4 separate regions of the Homo sapiens genome follow, and regions 2, 3 and 4 are each linked to region 1. The links are contacts of gene promoters, found by promoter capture Hi-C in blood cells and fetal thymus (Javierre and others, 2016). All regions are on one chromosome and are shown on one strand. Each heading gives the region's core, a stretch centred on a gene start or on the middle of the fragment in contact. The rest is flanking DNA. Distances are from core to core; before and after follow the strand shown.

What was found. Contacts are between HindIII fragments. The CHiCAGO score rates a contact against its expected background, and 5 or more counts as called.
Region 2: a fragment that was not itself captured here is called in contact with the fragment with the promoter of CCN6 in region 1 in 3 of 17 cell types (activated CD4 T cells, non-activated CD4 T cells and total CD4 T cells); the score reaches 5.9 in activated CD4 T cells.
Region 3: a fragment that was not itself captured here is called in contact with the fragment with the promoter of CCN6 in region 1 in 3 of 17 cell types (total CD8 T cells, naive CD8 T cells and naive CD4 T cells); the score reaches 6.1 in total CD8 T cells.
Region 4: a fragment that was not itself captured here is called in contact with the fragment with the promoter of CCN6 in region 1 in 1 of 17 cell types (activated CD4 T cells); the score reaches 6.0 in activated CD4 T cells.

Annotation. Positions count from the first base shown.
Region 1 is chr6:112,052,815-112,055,514 of GRCh38, reverse strand. CCN6 (cellular communication network factor 6) reads right to left here and starts at 1,411. Exons shown (of 5, transcript NM_198239.2): 1 at 1,110-1,411. The coding sequence starts at 1,157. The HindIII fragment of the contact is 6,629 bases long and covers 1-2,700 here.
Region 2 is chr6:111,276,182-111,278,881 of GRCh38, reverse strand. It overlaps SLC60A2 (solute carrier family 60 member 2), which reads right to left. Exons shown (of 4, transcript NM_153369.4): 4 at 1-2,700. Among named protein-coding and RNA genes, the nearest start is that of SLC60A2, 18 kb to the right of the region's middle. RefSeq lists an enhancer at 787-956. The HindIII fragment of the contact is 222 bases long and covers 1,301-1,522 here.
Region 3 is chr6:111,227,941-111,230,640 of GRCh38, reverse strand. It overlaps SLC16A10 (solute carrier family 16 member 10), which reads right to left. Exons shown (of 6, transcript NM_018593.5): 6 at 1-2,700. The region is part of intron 2 of SLC60A2-DT (SLC60A2 divergent transcript); the gene reads left to right. Among named protein-coding and RNA genes, the nearest start is that of SLC60A2-DT, 30 kb to the left of the region's middle. The HindIII fragment of the contact is 2,317 bases long and covers 146-2,462 here.
Region 4 is chr6:111,296,219-111,298,918 of GRCh38, reverse strand. No RefSeq gene overlaps it. Among named protein-coding and RNA genes, the nearest start is that of SLC60A2, 38 kb to the right of the region's middle. The HindIII fragment of the contact is 400 bases long and covers 1,180-1,579 here.

The DNA of each region.
Region 1 (2,700 bases), core at 162-2,661:
ATGAATTTATGAATTCATAAAAGCAAAGTTAAGCACAAAATAATCCATTTTTACCGCTCTTTGTGTAACACCTTTCTGTGTTTGTTGTTGTTTATTTTGTACACATCTCTCTGTGTTGGAATACCTGCTGTCTAAGAACATCTAGCTGCTCTCAATCCACAATGACAGGCTTTTTCTCAAGAACAGTGGAATAGGAGGCACACAGACAGGGGAGTGAGCCCCTCCACAGAACAGCAGCAATGACCTGGACCACTGACATTCTTGTCATGATTCTTTTGAAATCGTAAATCTCTCTCTATATGGTATAACAATTTGCAATTCCTTGTTTTCTAAGATGTATCTACTACTTATGGCCCCAATCAACTACTAACTCACAGACACACCCATGTTTCCTAAATCACCAGATTTCAAAAGCTCTGTCTCCTGTCTACCGTGTAAATAAATCAACAATTAAGTCACCTTGTTTTCATCTTCTTATTTAAAAAGACTAAGGCAATGAATTGCTCATAGTAAGTTAAACTTCCCTTTGGTCTGTTGCTTGAAATATTTCCAAGCCTCCATGGACTGCTTCCCTTTCAGGAAGTGAGAAACACATGGACTGAGAAAAGACAAAGTAAGAGAATGTTTTAAAAATGTAAATGTTTATTCCAAAGTGCCCCTTTCAAAGAAGGACAGACTTAACTGGAAAAAGTCGCTGTCAAAATTCGTTTTTCCAGGGGCTCTTTGCACATTTTGCAAACAGCAATGGAAAGTTGAGCCTCCGCCTGGAGCTGGCATGGAGAGACACTGTTTCCCGCACTGTGCCAGGCTGTGCCTTAGGCTCTGCTATAAAAATATATAGGAAAGCGTGGCGCTGTTCAAACATAGCGAAAGGAGGCTTCGGTGCCATTACCTGAAAGGGAGAAATGTTTTACATTTCTTTCATGAAGCTCATGAACGAACACAGAACTTTATTTGGAAAGAAAAATGGCTTCCTATTTCTCATGAAGTAGTTCCACAAGCCATTGATCCTCCCTCTTCCTCCATCTTCGTTTTGTTTAGTTTTGGGCCTGAAGAACTAAGGATGGCCATAGCCTCCGGAAGGGAAAGAGTCGGGGGAGAGGACTTACCTGTGCCAGGCCAGCAAGCAGAAGAGTGGAGAAGAGGAGCCCCTGCATGTCGCTGGGACCGTGGAGCCACCCTGAGGGGTAGAGAAGTCGCCGCTTGTTCATTGCTCCGGGTACACAAAGCTCCCCTGTCTCCTCTGCAAACCCCACGCTCCTCTGCACAAGAACACACACCCTCTACCTCCCACACTACCAACTTTCAGCCTGCACTTTCATTTTTAAGGATCCGTTTTAATACCCTGTTTACTTTCATGGGACTCTTCTAATAACCTGCCTTCGCAGTGAGCGTGTCACAGGTCAGGAATGGGCGAGCACTTTCCTCCCGGGACTCAGGAGGGCAGGGCAAGTAGTGACTGTTCTCTAAGTGACTGTGTTACCTGTTCCTGGAGAGCAGAGCCTGCCCCCGACAACGGGTGGGGTCCCACGTCATTCCCTTCCTTGCCCTCAGCTTCTCCATCTGTGTTTGCCCTGCTCCGGGTCCTCTCTAGGCTGCTTCCTTCTCCAGCTTCACCCTCACGTACAGAGTGCAGGCCTGGCCCCCCCACCAACAGCACCCATCGCAGCCTAGCCCTGGCTTTCCCCCTCCATATTAATGGCAGGCTCTCGAAGGACCCTGACTCCCCCAGCTCAGATTCTCTCGGAGGCACCCACAGTGCCCTGGGCTCACCTTTATCCCAACACCTTTCTCATGCCAGGTGGACTGTGAGTGGAAAAAATACAGATGGAGCAGGGGGCGGACTCCTACAGTACCTGGCCTGAGAGACGCCTCTTTTTGTGGCCACAGTTCCATGACAGATGACAATGAAGTTAACCTCCATTTTTCCGGGCCTAAAATAAAACAATTACACTGGTAGCAATCATTCATTTAATGAATTAAGATTAAAAATAAGCCTGGCCAATATGATGAAATCCCGTCTCTGCTAAAAAAAAAAAAAGACACAAAAATTAGCCAGGTGTGGTGGCAGGCGCCTGTAATCCCAGCTGCTTGGGAGGCTGAGGCAGGAGAATCGCTTGAACCTGGGAGGCGGAGGTTGCAGTGAGCCGAGATCGCACCATTGCACTCCAGCCTGGGGGACAAGAGTGAGAATTATTCTCAAAAAAAAAAAAAAGATTAAAAATAAAATTTTGACAGGTTTGTACTCCTCTTCTTCATACTCACCTCCCTGAAAGGTGTGACCACCAGCGCATCTCCTCCTGTGTCATCATGTGGGACCTTCGCTTCTCCATGTTCTCAGCCTGGGTCTGTGTTCCCATCTTCATTTGCAGCTGCCGTGGTGCTTTGTCCCTCTCAGGTCCCTGAGGCGTCCCACCTGCCTGCCCCCATCCCAAGGCCTATTTCTATTTCCTTTGATCAGTTACCTATCCCTCCTTTTCCTGCTGCCTTACCTATCCTATACCGATTGCTCACCTTTGTTACTGTTCAAGGCAGTCACTACTGTATAAAGACAACATCAAGCCTCGCTTAGGCCTGAGCTGAGGGCCTGGGAAAAACGAGGCTGTCCTCCACCACAGAGAATCTGGTGTCCTTGGAGAACCATGGACACCCTAAAACCTGCAGATCACACAGAGCTTACTAAGGAGTCATTAAACTGTA
Region 2 (2,700 bases), core at 162-2,661, 780 kb after region 1:
TCCTTCTGGAGCTTATGAATTCTGGAGGGTGTAGAAGCAAAATGTCACTTTCCCTTGCTTCAGTAAGACTAAGAACTTCCTATATCATTCTATTAGTCTGTTTTCATGCTGTTGATAAAGACAGACCTGAGATTAGGTAATTTACAAAAGAGGTTTATTGGACTTACAGTTCCACATGGCTGGGGAGGCTTCACAATCATGGCGGAAGGCAAGGAGCAGCAAATCACATCTTATATAGATGGCAGCAGGCAAAATGAGGGCTTGTGCAGGAAAACTCCCTCTTATAATAACCAAAAGATCTCGTGAGACTTCCTCACTATCACAAGAACAGCACGGGAAAGACTTGCCCCCATGATTTAGTTACCTCCCACCAGGTCCCTCCAACAACACATGGGAATTCAAGATGAGATTTGGGTGGGGACACAGCCAAACTATATCAATCACCATCAGAAAAGAAAGACGTTGCACCCTGAGACAAAACAAAAATGATAGGGTCATCTAACTGTTGATGATCTAAAAAACAATAAAACCTTGAATGTTTCCCATAAACCTGGACTCCCTAAGAAATTTTATCCTTGGTTTTTCCTGTACTACATCTGAAGATTTGCCATAACCTTTATGAATACAATAATTACATGAGGCAGTTACTGTTTTTCACCGTGAACAGTCTAATGCAAACTCAGAAACCTTGGCAGTTTTTAATTTTTTCCTTCAAATACTTACGTTTTTTATTAGGCAAGCCAGTCATTCTCTTGCTCTCTTTGCAGGTAAACTTTTCCTTTTCTAAATGCTTCTGTCTCTGAGTATTTCTTCAACAAGGGTAAAGATTCATAGAGTGCTTGGACACAGAACTGGATACTCTGCTCCTGGGGGCAGAGTTCACTGCAAGTGATAAGGGAAAGAGCTGAGAAATGAGAACCTGCTCTGTCAGCCCAAGGGTCTTTGGAGCTGTAATCCAAGATCTAGTTTGACCATAAATATATTCTCTTGGCTGGACTGAATAAATCTCAAAAGTTGGTGTCAGATTCCTTTGTTGTAGGCTTCCTAAGCCTTCTTGCCTATATTCACCTCAACTACACTGTGCCGAGTAATTTCTACAAAATTCTAAATCAAAAATTACCCCAAAGACATAGACAAGTACTAGAAATGAACAAACAAAAACACACACCAAGGAACCAAGAGTTTAGCTACTTTCCTTTTCTAAAACTGGGTAAAACCTATTACAATAAGAGTTACTGGCTCTTCCGCTGATAGAAATTTTGTCATGGCAAATTTTACTTAAAATAGAAAAACATAAGCTTGGTGAAGGCAAGGATCTCATCTGCCTTCTCCTATTATATTCCCAGGGCCCTGGTTACTGAACATGGTAAATGCTCAGTAAATATCTGTTAGATAACTGAAATGCATGAATTTGGAAAACTTTCTGGTCCGCACAGATGAGAACTGTAATAATATCTCTTGCAAACTGGGACTCCTCTTAGAGCTCACTCAAGTAGAAATCTTACCCTCTTAGGAGAAAGCTTTCTTTCTTGGTAAAAATCAAACAATCCACAAACCTTGTCTAACACGCTCTTCCAAAAAAGTCTGCAATTTGGTGTGATTTTGTTTTTCCAGTTCTGATGCAGATGAACCAGGCCATCCATCCCAGGACCTGCCAATTTTCATCCCATTCAGGTATCGATTACCAATATTTATGAAGCCTAGCACTTCTCTGGTACAGAGCAGACAGTGGACATTCCCTTTTGATGATAACAGCTCCTGCATGCAGAGTGGTGGGAGTAGGAGGGTAGAAGTAGCCACTTTCTGGATGGGAGCAATGTCATCAACCCAAAGGGAACCCCTTCATAGGCTAACCAGCAACTCCTGAGGCAAGGCCCAATAAGGGCAATGGCATCTACTCAAGTCAAACAGGTTTCCTCCGGAATCTGGACCAGAGATACACAGAGGAACTCCTGAGGCAAGGCCCAATAAGGGCAATGGCATCTATTCAAGTCAAACAGGTTTCCTCTGGAATCTGGACCAGAGATATATAGAAGATGGGCCAGGAATGCAGAAAACGAGTGGTCCCAAGGAGGGGCAGAACTGCTGTGAGAGAGGCAGAGAGCAGCCCATTTATCGTTCTCAGACCACACACCTTCTGGTTCCAAGGTGGTTCAGAGGGATCTCTGTAAACGAATGAGCACAAAACACAGAACCATTCATTTGGCAGAAAACTGAGATCAAAGCTGTACCTGCTACTGCAAGGACAAAAAAGAAAGTTCATTAATACTTAGTCTACAGAGCCTCACATGCAGTAAGCCCTCAAGCACTTGTGCAATGACTGAACAAAAATTGCAAGCAGAGATAACAAAACTTTGAGGTAGTTGCCCAACATAACTTTTCTTTGAGTTCACTTATTCAGTACATGGGTGCTACTGATATGATCATAATGCGCCTAAAGTCTGAGATAATACCTTAAAAGTATGTGTTTATTCTCTTCCTAAAGCTACTCTCTTCTGGAAAAACTTGATTAAGAAAAAAATCTAAGACAAAAAACACAAACACAACAAAATATTAAAAATAGAATTACCATAAGATCCAGCAATTCCACTTATGGGTATATATCTCAAAAGAACTGAAAACAAGATCTCAAAGACACAGTTGTACACCCACATTCACAGCAGCGTATTAACAACAGCCAAAATGTAGAAGCAACACAAA
Region 3 (2,700 bases), core at 55-2,554, 820 kb after region 1:
AGAACAAAAGCAAAATGCAACTTTTATCAAGCATTGTGCAATGCCTCTACAATCTTACACATCTCAAACCACATTAAGTTACATCAGAAGTTATTATTAGAGTGATGTTTAATCTCACCCTAATGTAACTTCTGATTAGCAAGCTTCCATTCTCTCTGCCAAATATAACTCATGTTAACGTAGAAAAGTGTTATCATTAGTTACCAGAGCAAATCCAGTGTACTGGATTGTGAATGCATAGTCTTTCTAATTAGGAAAATGAGAGTGTGTATTGTCTTCTTAATTTACATTTATAAAATCCTCATAAAATACAGTTAAGTCAGGGTCTTTTAAAAGAGAAGAATTCAACTGAAACCTGTCATTCTCTAGCCGGGCATGGTGGCTCATGCCTGTAATTCCAGCACTTGGGGAGGCTGAGGCAGGTGGATCACTTAAGGCCAGTCTGGCCAACATGGTGAAACTCCATCTCTACCAAAAATACAAAAATTAGCCGGTGTGGTAGTGGGCACCTGTAGTCCCAGCTACTCAGAAGACTGAGGCACGAGAATCACTTGAGCCCGGGAGGCGGAGGTTGCAGTGAGCTGAGATCGCGCCACTATATGGAGCCTGGCAATAGAGCAAGACTCCATCTCAAAAAAAAAAAAAAAAAAGAAACAAAGAAAGAAAAAGAAACCTGTCATTCTCAATTCATCTGAATCCTACCTACAGAACATTAAAGAGACCCGTATGTCTCGAACTCCTGGCCTCAAGCAATCCGCCTGCCTTGGCCTCCCAAAGTGCTGGGATTACAGGTGTGAGCCACGGCGCCTGGCCAAGGAGACCCATATGTTATTTTACTTAGGTGTTACACAATCAGACCAACGATGGTGCTGAGAGCCCTTGATAAATCATAGACCTGAGATTTGCTGACAGTGACCCAGCCGCAGTACTTATTGTTTATGTTAAATCTGAAAGACAAACAATGATACTTTCAGTGATAAATTTCAAATAATTATAAAAATATAACTGTGCAAATAACTCATTATCCATGTTTTAAGATTGATGACTCTCAAAACTCTGATTTTAGCCTGAAAGTTGCGAAATAGTTTCAAATGTCCAAATGTCTACATAAGCCAGCTCAATAGGAAGCTATTATATATAACTTTTTCACATTGCCTCAAAGTTACAGAATATATTTAAATCCCTCACTTTGTGCTAGAAACATTGACAAGGGACTTTTTCTTTAAAATTATTACCTTGGGAGGTTGTGTTCATTAGAACATTCTCATTTGGTGATCATTTTCTTGTGAGTTTCGTAATTTAAAGTCTTATATGTTAACAAAAATTGCATACCTCTAACTAGATACTGGAACTCAATAATCACTGTATAGGTGAGCTTTTTTCCTCAGTCATGTATATAACATGCAACATGCATAACGTTGCTGGCTGTATACATTTTCTATTGTGTTGTATATTAATATTTTTAAAAGAAAAATAATTTTGAAAGGAACATGAAGTATAGCACCAATCTTGATCTAATAATCTTTGGTAGAAAAAAAAGAGGCACCAACTATACAGTCTGTTCATAGTCCAGGGTCAAAATGCAGCACTATTTTTTTTTTTTTTTTTTTTGAGACAGAGTTTTGCTCTTGTTGCCCAGGCTGGAGTGCTATGGTGCAATCTTGGCTCACTGCAACCTCCACCTCCTGGGTTCAAGCAATTCTCCTGCCTCAGCCTCCCGAGTAGCTGGGATTACAGCATGGAGCCACCACGCCCGGCTAATTTTGTATTTTTGGTAGAGATGGGGTTTCTCCATGTTGGTCAGGCTGGTCTCCAACATCTGACCTCAGGTGATTCGCCTGTCTCGGCCTCCCAAAGTGCTGGGATTACAGGCATGAGTCACCGTGCCCGGCCCAGCACTATTAATAACAAACCCTCCATTCCTGAAATAACATTTCAATATAGACTGAATTATGAAAGATACTTTGACTCATTAGGGAAGATCACAGTAGAAAGGTTTTGTGTTTACACATTTAAAATATTTAACAAACTGACTCTTCTAATGACGGATACTGAAAAATATCTAGTAAAGAATAAAAGTCATACATCACAGGCTCCAAAATAGTATTACCAATCTAATTTGAGTTCTAAGTGTTATTTTATATTGGTAGTTCCTATCGCATACATGTTTAGGGACATTGAACTCCAAAATACTCTTTTTATAGCACTCATATTGAAAGGCAAAGCAACTTCTTTGGGTAGACTGGGTTAACTCCTACACTATTGCCACACTCAAGAACAGCATTTTAAAAAACTCCAGTGAGTCAAAAATTCATTGTCCCAGTCCTTGTTCTACTAGGAAGGAGTGTCTCTTACAGGAGTTTAATGTGTAAGTTGTCAGGTTTGGGCACAGCTGTACAATCTGTCATCACTGATCATCTACCCTCTTGCCAATGAAAACAAAACTTTTTCATAATCAAGCTTCCAGTGTAACTTGAAAAGCCACTGGCGAAGCATTCTAAGTGTTCATTAGAATCTGAGTGTGTCTAATTTAGAATCTAAGTGTATCTAGATTCTGAATTTCTTCAGGTTTTTCTTTGTCAGATCCACAGGCCATATTAGTTGTTATTCCTTTTTTGTTACTTTTACATCCGTTTATCAGAACAAAGCACTTAAGAAATTTTACTGATATTTTGACCCCACTAACAATTTGCACCCCCC
Region 4 (2,700 bases), core at 130-2,629, 760 kb after region 1:
ATATTGCAATTTCCTTACCAAAACTTCTTCAGGGTTAAAACAAAAAAAAAAATAAAAAAAGGGCAGCAAAAATGGGAAAATTTAATTTAGCACTCATCCTTTTAGAGAGTTTTAAGAGTGTACTTGTTTGTTAGTAGATCTTCAGTGTTCATTTTCATTTTGATATAATTATTAATTAAATTACAGAGAAAGCAAAAACTACATTACTTCTTAAAAACTTAAATGCCAATTTTTATATGCCTATTTTTTTCAATAGAAAAAAGTTAGTTATTATTTTAACAGAAATAACTCACCTGGTTATTTAACAGAAATAGGTCTTCCATTGCCAGAATATGTACTTGCAAATGTTGGGAGGATTCTTTTTCTGAAAATTACATGGTAAATATGGAACCAAAGAGATACATAGCCTGTGTCTGAACATAATTTATTTCAAGTCTTGTTAAGACATAATGAATTTCCACTTCTGGGGATTTTTTTTTGTTTGGGAGGCTGGGGCTAGTCCTCAGCATTGGGGTTTTTTCCCCCTTTTATATGTGTAGATTGATGAAATTCTGTTACTTACAAGTTCTGTGCTGTCAGGACTTCCACACACATCATCTCTTTCTCATCATAGTAACTTGACACAATATTTTCAACACAATAACCATTTTTAACCTGATTGATTGATTATAATTGGATACAGCCATATTAACAAATGGTTATTCAACATGAATGCCTAAAACTAGCTCACACTCAGCCTGTCTCTGGTTCTGTTTTCTGCAGGAAAGCTCCTCCTTTGTAACTGTCCTCAGAGTCTGTAGCTTAACTGCCTTTTAGTGAGGTCCATTTGCTGTTTCACTAACTCATCGGGGAGGGTGCTGAAATTTGGAACTATTTTACCAAGAAATTTTCTTGTAAGGATCTTCCTGTGTTCCATAATTTTCCCTCCTTTTTAGATGATTGGCTATTAATAAAGTTTTGTCTCTCAGATCACAGAAAAAAAAAATTTAAGTATGGCTGAAGAAACAGTTTCATTCTTTAGGATGTTTTCATTTACCTGAAAAGGAGCCAGAAGCTCAGAGACATCAAATAACTTCATTAAACATTTCCTTAATGTTTAATGAATTAAGTGAAACATTAATATTTGTTAAAGTTGTTTAACATTGTTTTCTCTCATTTTTCTCACTTTCTACTCAAGCTTTTCCCTAGATGAATCATGTAATAATCAATTCTATATGGACACAACATAGTGTCTTTGAGGAAGGACAATAAATTTGGAAAAAACATAAAAATGTGAAGAGCAGTTTTAAAGATATGAAGAATTCTTAGAGGAGGTGGCCCTCATCTTGCCAATGGAGCAGGCCACCCAGAGAGCTTGTGGACTCCGTTCAACCCCACTGACTGTCATGGGTTATACCCTCAGTCTCAGATGATGCACCCTACCTGCCATCAAGTGTGCCACCCTGATCACCTAAACATCTTTTCCGGATCTTACATTAGTTAAGTCTTGTAGCTGTGTAGTCGATCTTTTCATCTACTCTCTTTTATTTTCATAACAGTTGGAGTACAGGAATATTCCTTAAGGCCCATCAAATAAGCTTGTTTTGTCTTGAGGGGTCTTGCATTGTTGCCCAGGCTGGAGTGCAGTGGGGCGATCTTGGCTCACTGCAACCTCCACCCCGAGTTCAAGCAGTCCTCTCACTTCAGCCTCCCAAGTAGCTGGGGCTACAGGCATACACCACCACGCTTGGCTAATTTTTGTATTTTTGGTTGAGATGGGGTCTCGCCCTGTTGGCCAGGCTGGTCTCGAACTCCTGAACTCAACGATCTGGCTACCTCAGGCTCCCAAAGTACTGGGATTACAGGCTACTGGGAGCCACCACGCCCAGCCCAAATAAGCTTTTAAATTGACTTCTCTATTGTAGACTAGTATTTCTTAAAATAGTCACATTTAATTTTATAAAGTAAAAATAAATCTGGCTATAAATGACATTGTTAGGGCTCTGCCATCAGCTGTGGAGGTTGGGGGAGATGGCAATGCACAAGTAGCTACTTTTAGGCTGGATATGCCAGACCTCTATTAGTGAACTCTGTACCTCTGGGAGGATGGTTGGCATTCACACCCTACTGATTTTTAATCCCATAATACCATGTGCCCTTTTCCCATGATGTGATGAGAATTGTTACCTTTAACCATTTGAGGTTTTGTTTTGTTTCAGACAGGGTCTTGCTCTGTCACCGAGGCTGGAGTGCAGTGGCATGATCTCGGCTCACTGCAACCTCTGCCTCCTGCCTCAAGCGATTCTCCTGCCTCAGCAACCTGAGTAGCTGGGATTACAGGCATGCACCACCATGCCCGGCTAATTTTTGTATTTTCAGTAAAGATGGGGTTTCTCCATGTTGGCCAGGCTGGTCTTGAACTCCTGATGTCAGGTGACCCACCATCTTGGCCTCCCAAAGTGCTGGGATTACAGGCATGAGCCGCCATGCCCAGCCCATTTGAGTTGTATAATAGTGGATAAAATTCAGAAACATTAATGCCCCAGTTCTGCTTAATAACTAGCTTTGCACAGGCAAATAGTCACAGATTATGTCTATACTTGAAATCCAAGGAGGAAATCAAAACACATGCACCACCTAATCTACTTCTCTGTCTACTTTCCTCAACCTACCCAATAGCTGCATTTTGGCACTTTGGCCAACCTCCAAGAGTGGTTTACA